Linked DNA regions of Homo sapiens: region 2 is linked to region 1. Evidence: promoter capture Hi-C in 16 types of primary human blood cells and fetal thymus (Javierre and others, 2016). All regions are on one chromosome and are shown on one strand. The core of a region is centred on a gene start or on the middle of the fragment in contact, and the rest is flanking DNA. Distances in the headings are between cores, read along the strand shown. Region 1 holds the start of ARID3B (AT-rich interaction domain 3B). Region 2 holds the start of RPP25 (ribonuclease P/MRP subunit p25).

What was found. Contacts are between HindIII fragments. The CHiCAGO score rates a contact against its expected background, and 5 or more counts as called.
Region 2: a contact is called between a fragment that was not itself captured here and the fragment with the promoter of ARID3B in region 1, in 1 of 17 cell types (non-activated CD4 T cells). The highest score is 5.6, in non-activated CD4 T cells.

The regions. Positions count from the first base shown.
Region 1 is chr15:74,536,744-74,544,160 of GRCh38, forward strand. ARID3B (AT-rich interaction domain 3B) reads left to right here and starts at 4,477. Exons shown (of 9, transcript NM_006465.4): 1 at 4,477-4,587; 2 at 7,117-7,417. The coding sequence starts at 7,194. It overlaps LOC124903528 (a long non-coding RNA gene), which reads right to left and starts at 4,345. Exons shown (of 2, transcript XR_007064719.1): 1 at 4,155-4,345. RefSeq lists enhancers at 3,733-3,862, 3,797-4,338, 3,913-4,062, 5,413-5,472 and silencers at 4,363-4,722, 5,239-5,423. The HindIII fragment of the contact is 12,648 bases long and covers 1-6,543 here.
Region 2 is chr15:74,950,656-74,958,072 of GRCh38, forward strand. RPP25 (ribonuclease P/MRP subunit p25) reads right to left here and starts at 6,117. Exons shown (of 1, transcript NM_017793.3): 1 at 3,763-6,117. The coding sequence starts at 5,928. The coding sequence ends at 5,329. RefSeq lists enhancers at 32-81, 3,933-4,866, 4,867-5,800, 5,801-6,734 and a silencer at 5,760-6,409. The HindIII fragment of the contact is 524 bases long and covers 3,455-3,978 here.

The DNA.
Region 1 (7,417 bases), core at 3,227-5,726:
CTTTTAAGAAAAAAACTTCATACAATAAAATTGACTTTATTTTTGTTATATACAGTCCTATGGATTTTAACACATGTACAGATTGAAGTAACTACTACCAAAATCAGGATTCAAAAGAGTTCCATCACCCTAAAACCGTCCTTTTTGCTATCTCTTTAGTCATTCCCTCCACCCCCTTAGCTCCTGGCAATCACTGACTTACTCTCCAAACTATAATTTCAATATTTGTATGTGTGTCATTTGAGACTGACTTAGTTTACTTGGCATAATCCTTTCATTATTATGTAGTTATAATGCCTACTTGTTGTGTATATCAATACTTTATTCTTTTTATTGCTAATATTCCATTGGTGTTGGCTTCTGCTGGTATTCCTTAGGTCAGCAAATGATACCATTATTCTAACAATTACTTGGGCCAAAAACCTTGGCATCATCCTTCACTCTCTTCTCTAGCCTATACAACCAATCCATCAGCAAATCTTAGTGGTTCCACTTTCTTATCTTTTTATTTAGTTATTTTTTTTGAGACAGCGTCTCTCTCTGTTGCCCAGGCTGGAGTGCAGTGGCATGATCATGGCTCACTACAGCCTCCATCTCCTGGGCTCAAGCCATCCTCCCATCTCAGCCCTGACTAGCTGGGACTACAGGCACACACCATCGCACCTGGCTGATTTTTGTATTTACTGATAGAGACGGAGTTTCACCATGTTGCCCAGGCTGTTCTCGAACTCTTAGGCACGAGCGATCCACCCGTCTCAGCCTCCCATAGTGTTGGGATTACAGGTATGGGCCACTGTGCTCACTGGCTCGCTCAGCCAGCTCCACTTTCAAAATACACGTGGAATCTAACCACTTACCACTACCTCCACTGCTGTTACTTAGTTCAGGCCACCATCATCTTCTGCCAAGATTAGTGCTTCTACTCTTACCCCTTACCCTCATAGTCTATTCTCAACACAACAGCTAGAATGATCCCTTTAGAGATATAAATCTGATCAAGTAGCTCTTGTGTTCAGAACTCTCCAGGGCTTTCAGTGGTGACCGGCAAAATTGTTGCCATAATTGAGAAGGCCCTGCATGGTAAGGCCCCAGCTACCTTTTTTATCTGGTCTCTTAGCACTCTCCCCATCACTCACTCTGAATCAACATAGTGATCTCCTTGCTATTCCCATAGCACCTCAAGCAGGCTCCTGCCTCAGGGCATTTGAATTTGCTGTCTCCTCTGCCTGGAACACTCTCCCCCTAGATATCTACATGGCTTACACCCATTAAGTCAAGGCCAGTTTCTGCTTAAGGGCTCCTTATAAATTCTTCTCTGACTAACATCTAAAATAGCAGCTACCTGACACCACTGTCTAATCCCTACCCTGCTTTGTTTTCTTAGCATATATCCCTGACATTACATACTTGTTTTCTCTCCTCGAACTAGTAAAGATCCTTGCGAGCAGGGAATTTGTTTTGTCCATTGCTCAGTAAGCACCTACATGAGTGCCTGGTCTGGCATATAGTGGGAGTTGAATGAATATTTTTGATTGAATAAATAGGAGGTAAGGACAGGATGGGAAGGCAAGTAAGTAGGTTTCTCGATTTCAGGACATTCTACATTTTCTGTTACTTACATGATAAGGAAGTCAGGGGAAGTGGTAAGGGTATAGGTCAGAGATTTGTAGAGATCGTGGAGAGCAAGTTGACTAGAAAAATATAATGAAATTTCTAGTCACAGTTCACAGTCCTTTTTTTTTTTGAGACGGAGTCTTGCTCTGTCACCCCGGCTGGAGTGCAGTGGCGCGATCTCAGCTCAATGCAAACTCCACCTCCCGGGTTCAAGCAATTCTTCTGCCTCAGCCTCCAAAGTAGCTGGGATTACAAGTGCTTGCCACTGCGCTCAGCTAATTTTTGTATTTTTAATAGAGACGGGGTTTCACAATGTTGGCCAGGCTGGTCTCGAACTCCTGACCTCATGATCCACCCACCTCAGCCTCCCAAGTGCTGGGATTACAGGTGTGAGCCGCCGCACCTGACCCACAGTCCATTTAAAGTTGGTCTTTATTAATGTAGTGACGCCAATCTGTTCAGCAGGACACTTTTTCTTTTTTTGAGGTGGAGCTTTGCTCTTGTTGCCCAGGCTGGAGTGCAATGATGCAATCTCAGCTCACTGCAACCTCTCCTCTCAGGTTCAAGCTCTCCTGCCTCAGCCTCTGGAGTAGCAGGGATTACAGGTCTTCACCACCACGCCCGGCTAATTTTTGTATTTTTAGTAGACAGGGTTTCACCATGTTGGTCAGGCTGGTCTCAAACTCCTGACCTCAGGTGATCCACCCGCCTCGGACTCCCAAAGTGCTGGGATTACAGGCATGAGCCATCGTGCTCGGCCTCAACAGGACAATTTTTTTGTTTTTGAGATGAAATCTTGCTCTGTCACCCAGACTGGAGTGCAGTGGCGTGATCTCGGCTAACTGCAACCTCCGCCGTCCAGGTTCAAGCGATTCTTCTGCCTCAGCCTCCCCAGTAGCTGGGACTACAGGCATGCGCCACCACACCCAGCTAATTTTTGTATTTTTAGTAGAGACGGGGTTTCACCATATTGGCCAGGCTGGTTTCTAACTCCTGACCTCGTGATCCGCCCACCTCGGCCTCCCAAAGTGTTGGGATTACAGGCATGAGCCACCACGCCCAGCAACAGGACAACTTTCTATGACAAGGTACAAGCAAGGAGAAACACATAGGTCCATCCAGGGTGAGGGATTTCGTTGGGGAAAAAGGAGTGTTGTGGTGGGATTAAGATTAAGTAGGGGCAGGACTGTATTAATGTACCACTGAATCTAAAATGGATAAGGAAGGAAGTGAAGAGGGGATTAATGTATAAGAGATAAAGTAGAGGCTTTCAACCGATTAGATGCTCTGCTCTGATAAAGTGAAAGAACAGGCCGGGTGCAGTGGCTTACGCCTGTAATCCCAGCACTATGGGAGGCCGAGGCGAGCGGATCACCTGAGTTCAGGACTTCGAGACCAGCCTGGCCAACATGGCGAAACCTGTCTCTACTAAAAATGCAAAAATTAGCTGGCTTGGTGGCGCACACCTGTAATCCTAGCTACTCGAGAGGCTGAGGCAGTAGAATTGCTTGAACCCAGGAGGCGGAGGTTGCAGTGAGCTGAGGTTGCGCCACTGCACTCCAGCCTGGGCGACAGAGCAAGACTCCTTCTAAAAAAAAAAAGTGAAATAACAGTAATAACAGTTATGCTGTAATTCTATTTTTTTTGGGGGGGGGGAACAGTGTCTCTGTCACCCAGGCTGGAGTGCAGTGGCACAATCATGGCTCACTGCAACCTCCGCCTCTCCTGGGCTCAGGTGATCTCCCACCTCAGCCTTCCGAGTAGATGGGACCACAGGCATGCGCCAAAACGCCTCATTAAACTTTGTATTTTTTGTAGAGATGGGGTATCGCCTTGTTGCCCAGGCTGCTCTCCAACTACTGGGCCCAAGAGATTCGCCTGCCTCAGCCTTCCAAAGTGCTGAAATTACAGGCGTGAGCTACTGCATCAGGCCTATAATTCAAAAGTAGTCAAGCTGAGAGAATAGCAGGCTGTGGTTGAAAAGAGGGTTGTTCAAATTACTGAGTCGTGACGCGATAGCGTTTGGAGGGACAAGGTCCAGGTTTTAACTGGGATTGGGAGGCTGATATAAGGGTCGCTAAAGACGAGGCCCGATGTTGAATGGGTTGGCCACATAGGCTCTGAAATTATCAAAGATGGTCAGACGGGAGACAGACAAGGAGCTGGATACACAGATCGGCAGATTATCTCCAAACGGGGTGAAGTAGGTGACAGAGTCTAAGGGGAAGGGCTGAAGAAGCAAGTGTTTTTACAAGAGGTGACAGCACCTGGCACATAATCCCGACCTCTGCAAACTGAGACCTGAGAATACTAATTCATGTGAGAAAGTTTCAAGGGACGCAACATTCTCGGGACAGCCAGGTCTCTGTCCCAGGAAGGAGCGGAGAAGTTTAGAGACAAGCTGATCTAAACACGAGAACCTCTGAGGAAGACCGGCTTGAAGGCAGGAGATTGAGGAGGGGACCGAAGCGACGGCAAACCCTACACTCCTCTGCTCTTTAGTTACTTTCCTCCCAGCCAACCGCCCAAGCCACACCAACCTCCGCAATAGAAAACGCTCGGAGAACACGATCTCCCGCCCAGCTCTTTTCAACTCCCCGCGGAAGTGCTCACACCGGAACCCCTCTGTGTCCGCACTTTGCCATTGGCCGAGGCTTCCGCCCGCTTCCATTCGCTTCCTCCCACAACTCAGTCGGGCTGCGCGGTCCGTAGGAGTCACTTCCGCCTCGTCCCACCCCGCCCCCCGGTCCCTTTCTAGCAGCTTCCGGCTTCGGTCCCGCCCCGCCCCCTGTGGCCCCGCCCCGCCCCCGCCCCCGCCCCTGGCTGGCGGTCCAGCCCCGCGGCGCCGCTTCCGGTGCGGGCCCCGCCCCGGCTGTGGCCCCCGGCTGCGGAGGAGTCCGAGACGCAGCTGCCGCGCCGGGGCCTGAGCTGCCGCCTCCTCCGCCGCCCGAAAACCCGGAGTGCCCCGCACAGGTAAGTGGCCCGGGTCCGGGCTCCCTCAGGCATGGCGGGAGAGGAGGCTGCGACAGGTGGAGGGGCCGAGGCCAGGAGCCGAGGCAGGTGTAGAGAGAGAGGGGAATGCGCGAGTCGGGGGCGCGGGGACCGCGAAGGAAAGTGAGAGCGCCGCGGGAGCCCCGAGCGCCCTGTGCCCATTAGGGCATTTGAGATAAAGCGTTTGAGATAAAGCGATGAGAAGGGTGAGGGGCCCTGGAGCTGAGTGGGCGCGCAGATAGGTGGGGCGGGGGCCATCGGAAGAGCCAGCGGATTGGCTGGGAGGGTTGGTAGAGGTAAAAATGATAGGGCTGAATGGGGGGAGGTGAATAAAGAATGGGGGGAGGCGTGCAGGGGTGACCGGGAAGGTGGGCTGTGGGGCTTACAGGGGCCCGGGGCCAAAAGAATCCGGCAGCAAAAGCAGGGGAATGGTCAGCAGGCCGGGTTCAAAGCTGCAGGTAGTCCGTTGTACCCGGCTTGGTGGTCCGGGAACTTTAGGGGAAATGGGGGAGGGGCCCGTGTGAAGGGATGAAGAGGTTTAGATTTGAGACATAAGTTCTCCAAATGTAGGCAGGTGGCATTGTTTGGATCGCTGGCTGCTTAGGGACTGCGGGAAAATGGGCTCTTTGGGGGAGGGTGTGTGTATTGAGTTGTAGAACTGAGTCATCTCAGTCTTACTATAAGAGGCTGTGGGAGGGACACCTCCCCCTCTGCTGGGGACAGCATTCAGAGAAGATGGTGCCACAAGACAAGAAGCAGTTGTTCAGTGACTGGCAGGACTTGGTTGAGAAGTTATTCCGATCGTGATTGATTGACTGTAATGACTATGAGGACATTTAAAATGAACACCGAATTATTTGCTTTATTCTGTAATTTTCTTTGACCCAAATTGTTTTCATTTTAAATGAACACTTTTGCCAACTGAATTTAATGTGGATGTAAATCTTGTCATGCTTTTTTACACTGTAAGAAGAGCTAAAGCAGAATGAAAGTATTGCTGCAAGCGTAACTCACACTTTCTGAAGTGCCAAGAGAGGAAGTAAAGGCAGTAAGAGGCAAATTGGAATGCGAATCTTTCACAGAACACAAAAGGCACAAACAGGGCTATAAGATAAACAGAAAATGAGAATTTTTAATCTCTACTAATTGGCCTAGCTTTAAAAATTGTACCCTTTTTTACTCTAACCTGGAAAAAATCTTAAATCCAAGCAGTTTTTATTGCTGAAGATGTGATTACTTCTCCGTGAATTTTTGAAGATACTAAAGACACTTTGTTTTTTGTCTTTCGACCCAATCCTAAAACACTGGAACAATGCAGATATCAAGTCCCAACATGTGCAGTGCAGCTTCTTTCATGTGATGACAAAATTGTACGCCATGTTGCAAGTCCTGTTCACCTAAAATTGCCCTTGCATAGTAATCCATTCAGTTATGGAGACTTGCTGAAGAAACATAACTCAAGTGAAGTTTGTTGGGGGTGAGGGCCTGCAGGGGAGAGGTGGGGGAGTAAAAGGAGAAGAGGGTGTGAAAGTGATGTGTGTTTGGAGACTGATTGGTAAGAATGCAGATAAACCTGCCCCCAGAATGCTTTTGGCCCGAAAGACTTTTCTTTTTGTGTTTGTCAGAGAATATCATAATAGAAATGAATCAGAAAGAAAGGGGATGTGAAGAGATTTACTTCGCTGTTTATAAAAAAGAAGCAGCATTAACTTGTTGTTCAGACAATGTTGATATCTGTTTCAAATTAATTAACTTTAAAATCTCCAGAGGAATTCCCCCGTTTGCTTTTGAGTGACGATTGCAATTTGAGACTCTTGCCTCCTTGCGTGTTTCTTTCATGTTGTTGAAATTGGATTCTTTTTGAGGCTATAATGTCCAGTTAGTATGGCTCAGTCCACTCAACAAGCAGGCTGGCAATTTGATCAGGGAAATTTGAAAAGCTTAGACCCAAGAGCAGCTTGCTTGGTCTTGCTTTTTCTATGAGAGTAAAACTGTCTGCCTGATAGTTCTGTGTCTAGCTTAGAGGTGATATCTTTCTCCTGTGGGCTTGGGAACATACTCTCTCCTTTGCAGGCAGGTCCTTCTTTTCCTTTATTATTGTTGTTTGCATAATTATGCTTCTGCTACAGTGCAAACCCAGTTACCTTTTCAGTAATTAATGTTCAGTAACATTAGTTCAGTAACAGATTAATGTTTGATAATGTAGAGGAAGAGAGATCAGAACACGTTAGCAGACTAGATATTGGCTGGATGTACTTCTTTTAAAGCCTGCTACTACTACTGAAATTCATTCCCTATTTCCCCTCTTAGATCCTGTTTCTCTTCTTCACACCTTTTCCTACCCACCCACGAAACCCCCACCACTCACTCATCTTAAAACTCAGGTTTAGGAGCATATGTTTAGCGTTCGGAACTCATGGCCCTCTACTGGAGAAAAGGAAACCTTTTTATACCTGCTTAACATGGTTGTTTTTTCCCCCTCCTTCTTTGTGGTTTCTGTTAATCACTAAGGTTTAGACCCAGTGTGCCTGGTGGGCTGTGCCCAGGTTCAGAGTCATGCCACTCTGTGGGTGAAGCTTGAGGCAAAAATGGAGCCACTTCAGCAGCAGCAGCAGCAGCAGCAGCAACAACAGAAGCAGCCACACCTGGCTCCTCTGCAGATGGATGCCAGAGAGAAGCAGGGCCAGCAGATGAGAGAAGCCCAGTTCTTGTATGCCCAAAAGCTGGTCACACAGCCGACTCTCCTTTCCGCCACAGCTGGGAGACCTTCTGGCAGCACTCCCTTAGGTCCCTTAGCCAGAGTTCCACCCAC
Region 2 (7,417 bases), core at 2,467-4,966, 410 kb after region 1:
TGTCTGGCCCAGGTATGCACCTAACAGTGAAGTGAATACACTCTGGCAGATTCATGGCAATGGACAACAGCTCTTAAAGATTTACCAATTTGAAGCTGGGTACTCCCACCTCCCACAAAAAATAATCACTCCATTGTTTGGTCCTGACATAGCACGTCCCCTGGGGTGCCAGAAAGGCAGACCAAGTCCTGGCCAGGCAGGGTTAATGCTCAAGGAGAACCCTCCCATTTCCTGGCTGTAATAGCAGTGAAATCCTACCTAGCCTGGGTAGCTCTCACATCTGCTCCCATCTCCCTCCGCATTGCCGATGTCTCATCTCTTATCCCTGCATTGTCTCTAGGGTCTAATCAGACCCCCTTCCAATCCACTCCCACTTACACAGGTGTCAGAGGGATCCTTCTCAAACACCAGTCAGATCTGGGCTCAGAGCACTCCCTGGCTCCCAGTGGCTCCCTCACTTCCCTGTGACCTGGCTCCCACCGGCTCCCTCACTTCCCTGTGACCTGGCTCCCACCTAGCACTCTAGTTCACCTGCATCTCTACACGTTACCCTCTGCCATCTCCTCTATCCATCAGACACCTGTGGCAGCCTCAGCATCATACACACCCGCTCTCTATGCTCTGCCTGGAGCTCCCTGTCCAGTCTTGGTCAGCTGGCTAACTCCTGATCCTTGGAGAACCAGCTCCATCAGCACCTCTGGGCAAGGTAAGTTCCCCTTCTCAGAGCTCCCATCTTCTATCATCACACTGTGCTAGATGGGCCCAGGCTGGAGTGCGATGGCACATCTCAGCTCACTGCAACCTCCACCTCCTGGGTTCAAGCGATTCTCCTGCCTCAGCCTCCCAAGTAGGTGGGATCACAGGCGCCCGCCACCATGCCCGGCTAATTTTGTATTCATCATATTGGTCAGGCTGGTCTCAAGCTCCTGACCTCAGGTGACCCCCCCCCCCCCGTCTCTGCCTCCCAAAGTGCTGGGATTACAGGCGTGAGTCACCACACCTGGCCAAGACTCGGCCCTCTTTGAGGTACAGTGTCTGATTATGCTGTGATTCTATACCCAGCCCCAGCCCATTTCTAGACTGGGTCCCGGTACAACAGTGAACACTTGTTGAATGAATGAAGGCTCAGGTGGAAGTCCATCACTCATTCGACCATGAGCTCTGGGCCTTGCATTATATACTTTTATGTTTCCAAATGGATTTTGTTTTTGTGACCTAAGTTTTCTAGGTGTGAGACTTCACTGCCGCTCCTAGTCTGGAAGTATCCCAAGGCGGGGCCAAGGCAAGCACCAGGCTGGGTCCAGGAAGCTCCTGGGTAGAGACCACTATTGGAAAAATGGGGTTTCACAAGAGGGACTCTCCCACTCTGCCACTAGTCGGCTCCTGAAATGGGCCTTGTCTCTGAGGTGCTCCCCTAGCCACCCCTCCCTTTATCCCAGGACTTCTGAGGTTCCCACTTCAGCCTTGGTGGTGGGGAGCGGGTAGAGGAACATCTGTCACCTTCTTTTGGAGCCTGCTCCTAGGTCAGTGGGGCCAGAAATCAGTAGGGCAGAGATGGAGTGCTCATGCGTGCTGGGTTCCATTGGTGAGTCAGCACACCTACTGAAAGCCTGGGAACCAAACTTGCCGGGGTGGGGCGGGAGTGCAGAAAAGAAAGTGTTTCATGACCTGCTTGGGGGAAGGTTAATGCTCTGATGCTGGATAAACATGTTCCTCTCTTCTCTACCCCCCAGGATAGGTTTCTGGGCTGGAAGGGAACTTTTCTGACCCATCAAGAGAAATCCACTGCAGGCCGGGGGCAGTGGCTCACCCCTATAATCCCAGCACTTTGGGAGGCCGAGGCGGGTGGATCAGTTGAGGTCAGGAGTTCAAGACCAGCCTGGCTAACACGGTGAAACCCCGTTTCTAATAAAAATACAAAAATTAGCTGCTCATGGTTGCCCACGACTGTAATCCCAGCTACTCAGGAGGCTAAGGCTGGAGGATTGCTTGAACCTGGGAGGCGGAGGCGGCAGTGAGCCAAGACTGTGCCACTGCACTCCAGCCTGGGCAACAGAGTGAGACTCCGTCTCAAAATAAAAAATAAAATAAAAAAATAAAAAGAGTCCGGGAGCAGTGACTCATGCCTGTAATCCCAGCACTCCAGGAGGCTGAGGCGGGTGGATCACCTGAGGTCAGGAGTTTGAGACCAGCCTGGCCAACATGGTGAAACCCCATCTCTACTAATAATAAAAAAATTAGCCGGGCGTGGTAGTGCACACCTATAATCCCAGCTACTCCGGAGGCTGAGGCAGGAGAATCACTTGAACCTGGGAGGCAGAGGTTGCGGTGAGCTGAGATTGTGCCATTGCACTACAGCCGGGCGAAAAAATATATATATATATAAAATCGTGGTGGCTCACACCTCTAATCCCAGCACTTTGGGAAGCCAAGGCAGGTGGATCACAAGGTCAAGAGATTGAGACCATCCTGGCCAACATGGTGAAATGCCGTCTCTACTAAAAATACAAAAATTAGCTGGGCGTGGTGGCACATGCCTGTAATCCCAGCTACTTGGGAGGCTGAGGCAGAAGAATCGCTTAAACCCAGGAGGTGGAGGTTGCAGTGAGCTGAGATTGCACCACTGCACTCCAGCCTAGTGACAGAGCAAGACTCCTTCTCAAAATAATAATAATAATAATTAAAATAAAAAAAATAAAAAAGAGAGGCCGGGTGTGGTGGCTCATGCCTGTAATCCCAGCACTGTGGGAGGCCGAGGCGGGTGGATCACCTGAGATCAGGTGTTTGAGACCAGCCTGGCCAACATGGTGAGACCCCTTCTCTACTAAAAATACAAAAACTAGCCGAGTGTGGGGATACACGCCTGTAATCCCAGCTACTCAGGAGGCTGAGGCAGGAGAATCGCTTGAACCCAGGAGGCAGAGGTTGCAGTGAGCCGAGATCGCACCACAGCACTCCAGCCCGGGCGACAGAGAGATACTCCGTTTCAAAAAAAATAATAAAAAAAAATCCATTGCAGCCTTATCTCCGTGACAAGACTAGCAGACCCTGCTTTCTTTTTTTTTTTTTCGAGACGGAGTCTCACACTGTCGCCCAGGCTGGAGTGCAGTGATGCAATCTCGGCTCACTGCAACCTCCGCCTCCCAGGTTCAAGCGATTCTCCTGCCTCAGCCTCCTGAGTAGCTGGGATTACAGGCGCCCGCCACCATGCCTGACTAATTTTTGTATTTTTAGTGGAGACGGGGTTTCACCATGTTGGCCAGGCTGGTCTCAAGCTCCTGACCTCGTGATTTGCCCGCCTTGGCCCCCCAAAGTGCTGGGATTACAGGATTACAGGCATGAACCACCATGCCCGGCCTCAGGCCCTGCTTTCATAGTCCTGGTAACCCGGCTATCAGTCACTTGTTGTCTTGGAAAGTTGGACCCTTTTCAGAACCAAGACCAGTCTCCCTTAAGCTTCTACCATGCAGGACCTTGTCCAAGTTTTATCACTGCCTTTAGATGCTGAAGTCCAGGAGAAGCTAGGCCATCTTGTCAGGACAGTTTACATTCTTTCCATGCTTCTTGGGCCACCCCTGAGAGGGTCAGACAAGCAAACCCAAACCCCTTGGCCCTCTCCAGGGACTCATCAAGAGCAGGAATTTGGGGAGAGCAACGAGGGACAAAGTCTGGATGACAAAGCTCACTCCAAAGCTCAAGCAGAGATACTGCAGGGGAGGGAAACCTCCCTAAGAGCCCCTCCAGTCAGCCACAGAACGTATCTCTTGTCACCAGCAGGATTTATTTCAGGGTTCTGCCAGCAAAATGACTTATAAATACATTCTTCCGCATCTCCCCCTTTCCAGGGGTGCTGCTGAGTTGCATGGGATGAGATCTGCTTCTGAGATCCTGGGGCTGTATGCCACCCCCAACTCACCAGAGCTCTTCCAGCACACAGCAGCACCCCCACCCCCCAGCTGGCTTGGAGTTGGGCAGAGAAGCTTATGAGGCTGTTATCTCTCAACAGACAGCTGTGCAGGGCTGGAGGCAGCAGCTTATCAGGAGGCCTGCAGTGATTCACAGCCCAAGACCCAGCTTCTCTGCTGAATAGTAATTTCCAGCAGTGGATTTGTGCTCAGTCTCTCTCCTCCCCCTTTCCCAAGGGTGTGCTGTCCTTTCTCAGAGAGAGGGCAGTGAAGGGGAGATCCTACCCACAGAGCTGGGGGCTTTGTGCCAGCCTTCTGGGTAAGGTTCAGTTTATTGTCTGGAGGCTGCAGATTCAGGGACCTCAGCAGGGTCTGCCACCCTTTGCAGTGACCTCCAGGAGAGTTCATCGATGCTGTCCTTCCACTCCTTCCTTCCCCTCCCAGAAAAACAATGTGCCGCTCCCTTTCCCTTAGTGGCGATGTACAGGGGTACACGGGCCCCCATTTGCAACAGCCTCTGAGGCCAGGGCCAGCCCGGGAGGGCGGAGTGGGGGAGGAGAGAGGAAGAAGCCAGGGACTGGGCAGTGCCTTGCACCATTTTGAAGCTGTTCAGTCTCTGTGCCTGACCCTGAAGACTCCAAAGACTCAGGACGCAAGGCTGGAGGGGAGGGGAGACACAAGGGGCCAGGCGAGAGCTGTCTCTGCACAGGCGGGTGGTTAGAAAAAAAATGGGGGACACAGCCATTTTTGTGCTTGTTTTATTGGAAGCAAGACTCCAGCCAGCTGCAGGGCTCAGGGGAGGAGGCCTGGAGAGTTCAGTCCTGGGTCTCCCTCTGGGCCAGCAGGGGGAAAAGGGGTGTTAAAAGAGCTAGAACCCTCAGAGATGCTCCTCTGAAGCAGGGGAAAGAAAACTAGAAAGGAAAACTGTCCCAGGGCGGGGAGCGGAATAGGGCCCCCACATCTCAGACTCTCCTACCCTCAAGCAGTTAATTCTCACCCCCTGCCTTCCTCTGTCAACGGTGGGGGTGATTCCAATAACTCTTCTCAGCTTCCATACTTCAGGTGCTCTTCGTGAATGCTGGGTGGCTTTAACCCTTGGGGGTCCCAAACAAGTTTCCAGAATCCCACTGTCCACCATTCTCCCCCAAAGAAGGTCCCAGAAAAGGTGAAGTTCCGTGTCTTCACGCAACACGGGCATAAGCAGCAATTATCGCACGAAGTTTCCCTAGGGTGGTCGGGGATCCTCTCCTGCCACTCCTGGGGCCCCTCTCTTGTCGCCTTAAGGTCCATGCTACCTGTCTTGAGGAGCTGTGTCCAGGTTGTGGGCTCCGGAGGACCGAGGAGTGAAAGGCTGGAGGTACATCTGAAGGTGGAGGCGCTGGCGGAAGATCCTGCCGGACTAGGTGGCCCACAGTCCGGAGTTTCAGGCCGTCTGATCCTCGTCCGCAACCCCTGGCTCGGGTTGCGATCGCTTCGCGGAGCCTTCTCCAGCTGCGGGTTCCCCTAGGCTCCTCTTGGACGCTGGCGCGGCTGGCGGGGACGAGGGACCAGGATGGGGATTCGGGGGCTGGTAGCCGGGCTGTCGCGGATCCAGCGCGTCCTTGGAAAGTAGGATGGCGAGGCCGGGCACGTTCTTAAGTACGCTGAGACTAGCGGCCGGCTCGCCAGGCGTCTGACCCTGCGTGGGCCCAGGCGGGAGGCTCTGCCACACCTCGCGTACGCTCCGGTAGCGCAGCCGCGTGACCTGGTGCAGGCCCGCCAGGCGGCGCTTGAGGATCTCGGCGCACGTGACGGTTTTGGTGGTGGCCCGGCCGCAGCCGCTGAAGACGATGGCGCGCGTGGCTGGCTGCGCCATGCTGGCGGTGGCGAAGGCCATCAGGTTCCGGATCTTGCTGCCTTCCTTGACCCGCATGTGCACCGCGCCCGGCGCCAGGTCTGCGAAGGGGCCGGAGCCCGGGCCGCCTCCCTCGGCCCCGCACCCCGCTGGCGCCTCTTCGGAGCGCACCTTACGGAAGTTCTCCATGCGCCGTCGTCGCCGGGACCGCCGGCTTTGCCATGGGGCGGCCTCAGCCCCGGGGCTGCATGGCCGCCGGTCGCGCCTTGCAAGGGCCAGCAGGGGTAAGGGCGCCGGAGCAGCGCAGACGCCGGCGGGCGGGCTGGGACGGCGCGATCTCGGCCCCACTTCTCTCGAGCGGGCGCCGCTCTACTCAGCGCTCTCGGCGCCGGGTGCTCCGCGCCTTTAGCTGAGGCCCCGCCCCTGCCGCCAGGCCCCTCCCCTGACCCGGCCCGGCCGGGCCCGCCCGGGCCCCAGCCTCACTAGCCTTTCCTGGCGAGTCTGGGTCCTCAGCTACGCGGGCGTGGGAGCGGGCGCGCTGCGGGGCGCATGAGCAGGTGAAGGTGAAGTTCCACTATAATCGCCATCAGCGCTCTGAGAGCCAACCCTCACAAACCGGCAGTCTAAATAAAAGCTGCGCTTGCCGTGCAAACACTGCTTCAAATCCGGTATCCGAGCCCTTCCCATTTGCAACTGAAGGCCGCCCCTCGTCCCCTCCCAGGGAGAGATTTCCAAGAGGCTTGCTGGGGCCTTGCCCCTCCTCCCCCGCCCCGGGGAACACCCCCACCTTTTTTCCGCTCCCAAGTATTCTTGCCTCAAGGACAGCTAGTGCGCGGTCAGCAGAGTGCGGGAGGAGCTGGCTGCGGCTCCACTCCGCGCCTCCCCGCGGGCGATTACGTCGCGGCGTGGTCCTCGCGGGGCGCGGAAGACCCAGACTTCAGCCTCGCCACGCCTGCCCGGAGCTCGAGGCTCCCGGACCCCCGTCCACCCCTGGGACGTGAGGAGTGAGGCTTTGGGCCAGGCTGTTCCCCGAGGCGCGTGGGGAAGCGGGCGTGACCTCTTCTGAAAAGGCGGTAGGCTCGCTCCACCCAGGCCCTAGAGCCCACCCTTAGAGCTGCGCGCTTTAGGGTGAGCCAGGCACGATGCCTTGCCAACGTGGCCGCCCCCTTCCTCCCAGGCGGAATTCGCTCAGGCAACATTGGCCCCTTGAGATCCAGTGGGGTCCTTTTCGAAAGGAGGCTAGGTGAACGCAGGTTTTAAAAAAGAGAAGGGAGGGGCCGGGCGCGGTGTCTCACGCTTTTAATCCCAGCACTTTGGGAGGCAGAGGTGGGCGGATTACTTGACGTCAGGAGTTCGAGACCAGCCTGGTCAACATGGTGAAACCCCGTCTCCATTAAACGTACAAAAATCAGCTCGGCGTTGTGGCACGCTCCTGTAATCCTAGCTGCTCGGGAGGCTGAGGCAGGACAAGCGCTTGAACCCGGGAGCTGAAGGCTGCAGTGAGCCGAGATCATGCCACTGCACTCCAGCCGGGGCGACAGAGCAAAGCTCTGTCTCGAAAAATGAATAAATTAATTAATTAAATAAAATACAAAAGAGAAGGGAGGGATACCCCATTCTCCAGGATGTGATTATTATGCATTGCATGCCTGTATCAAAACGTCTCATGTACCCTCTA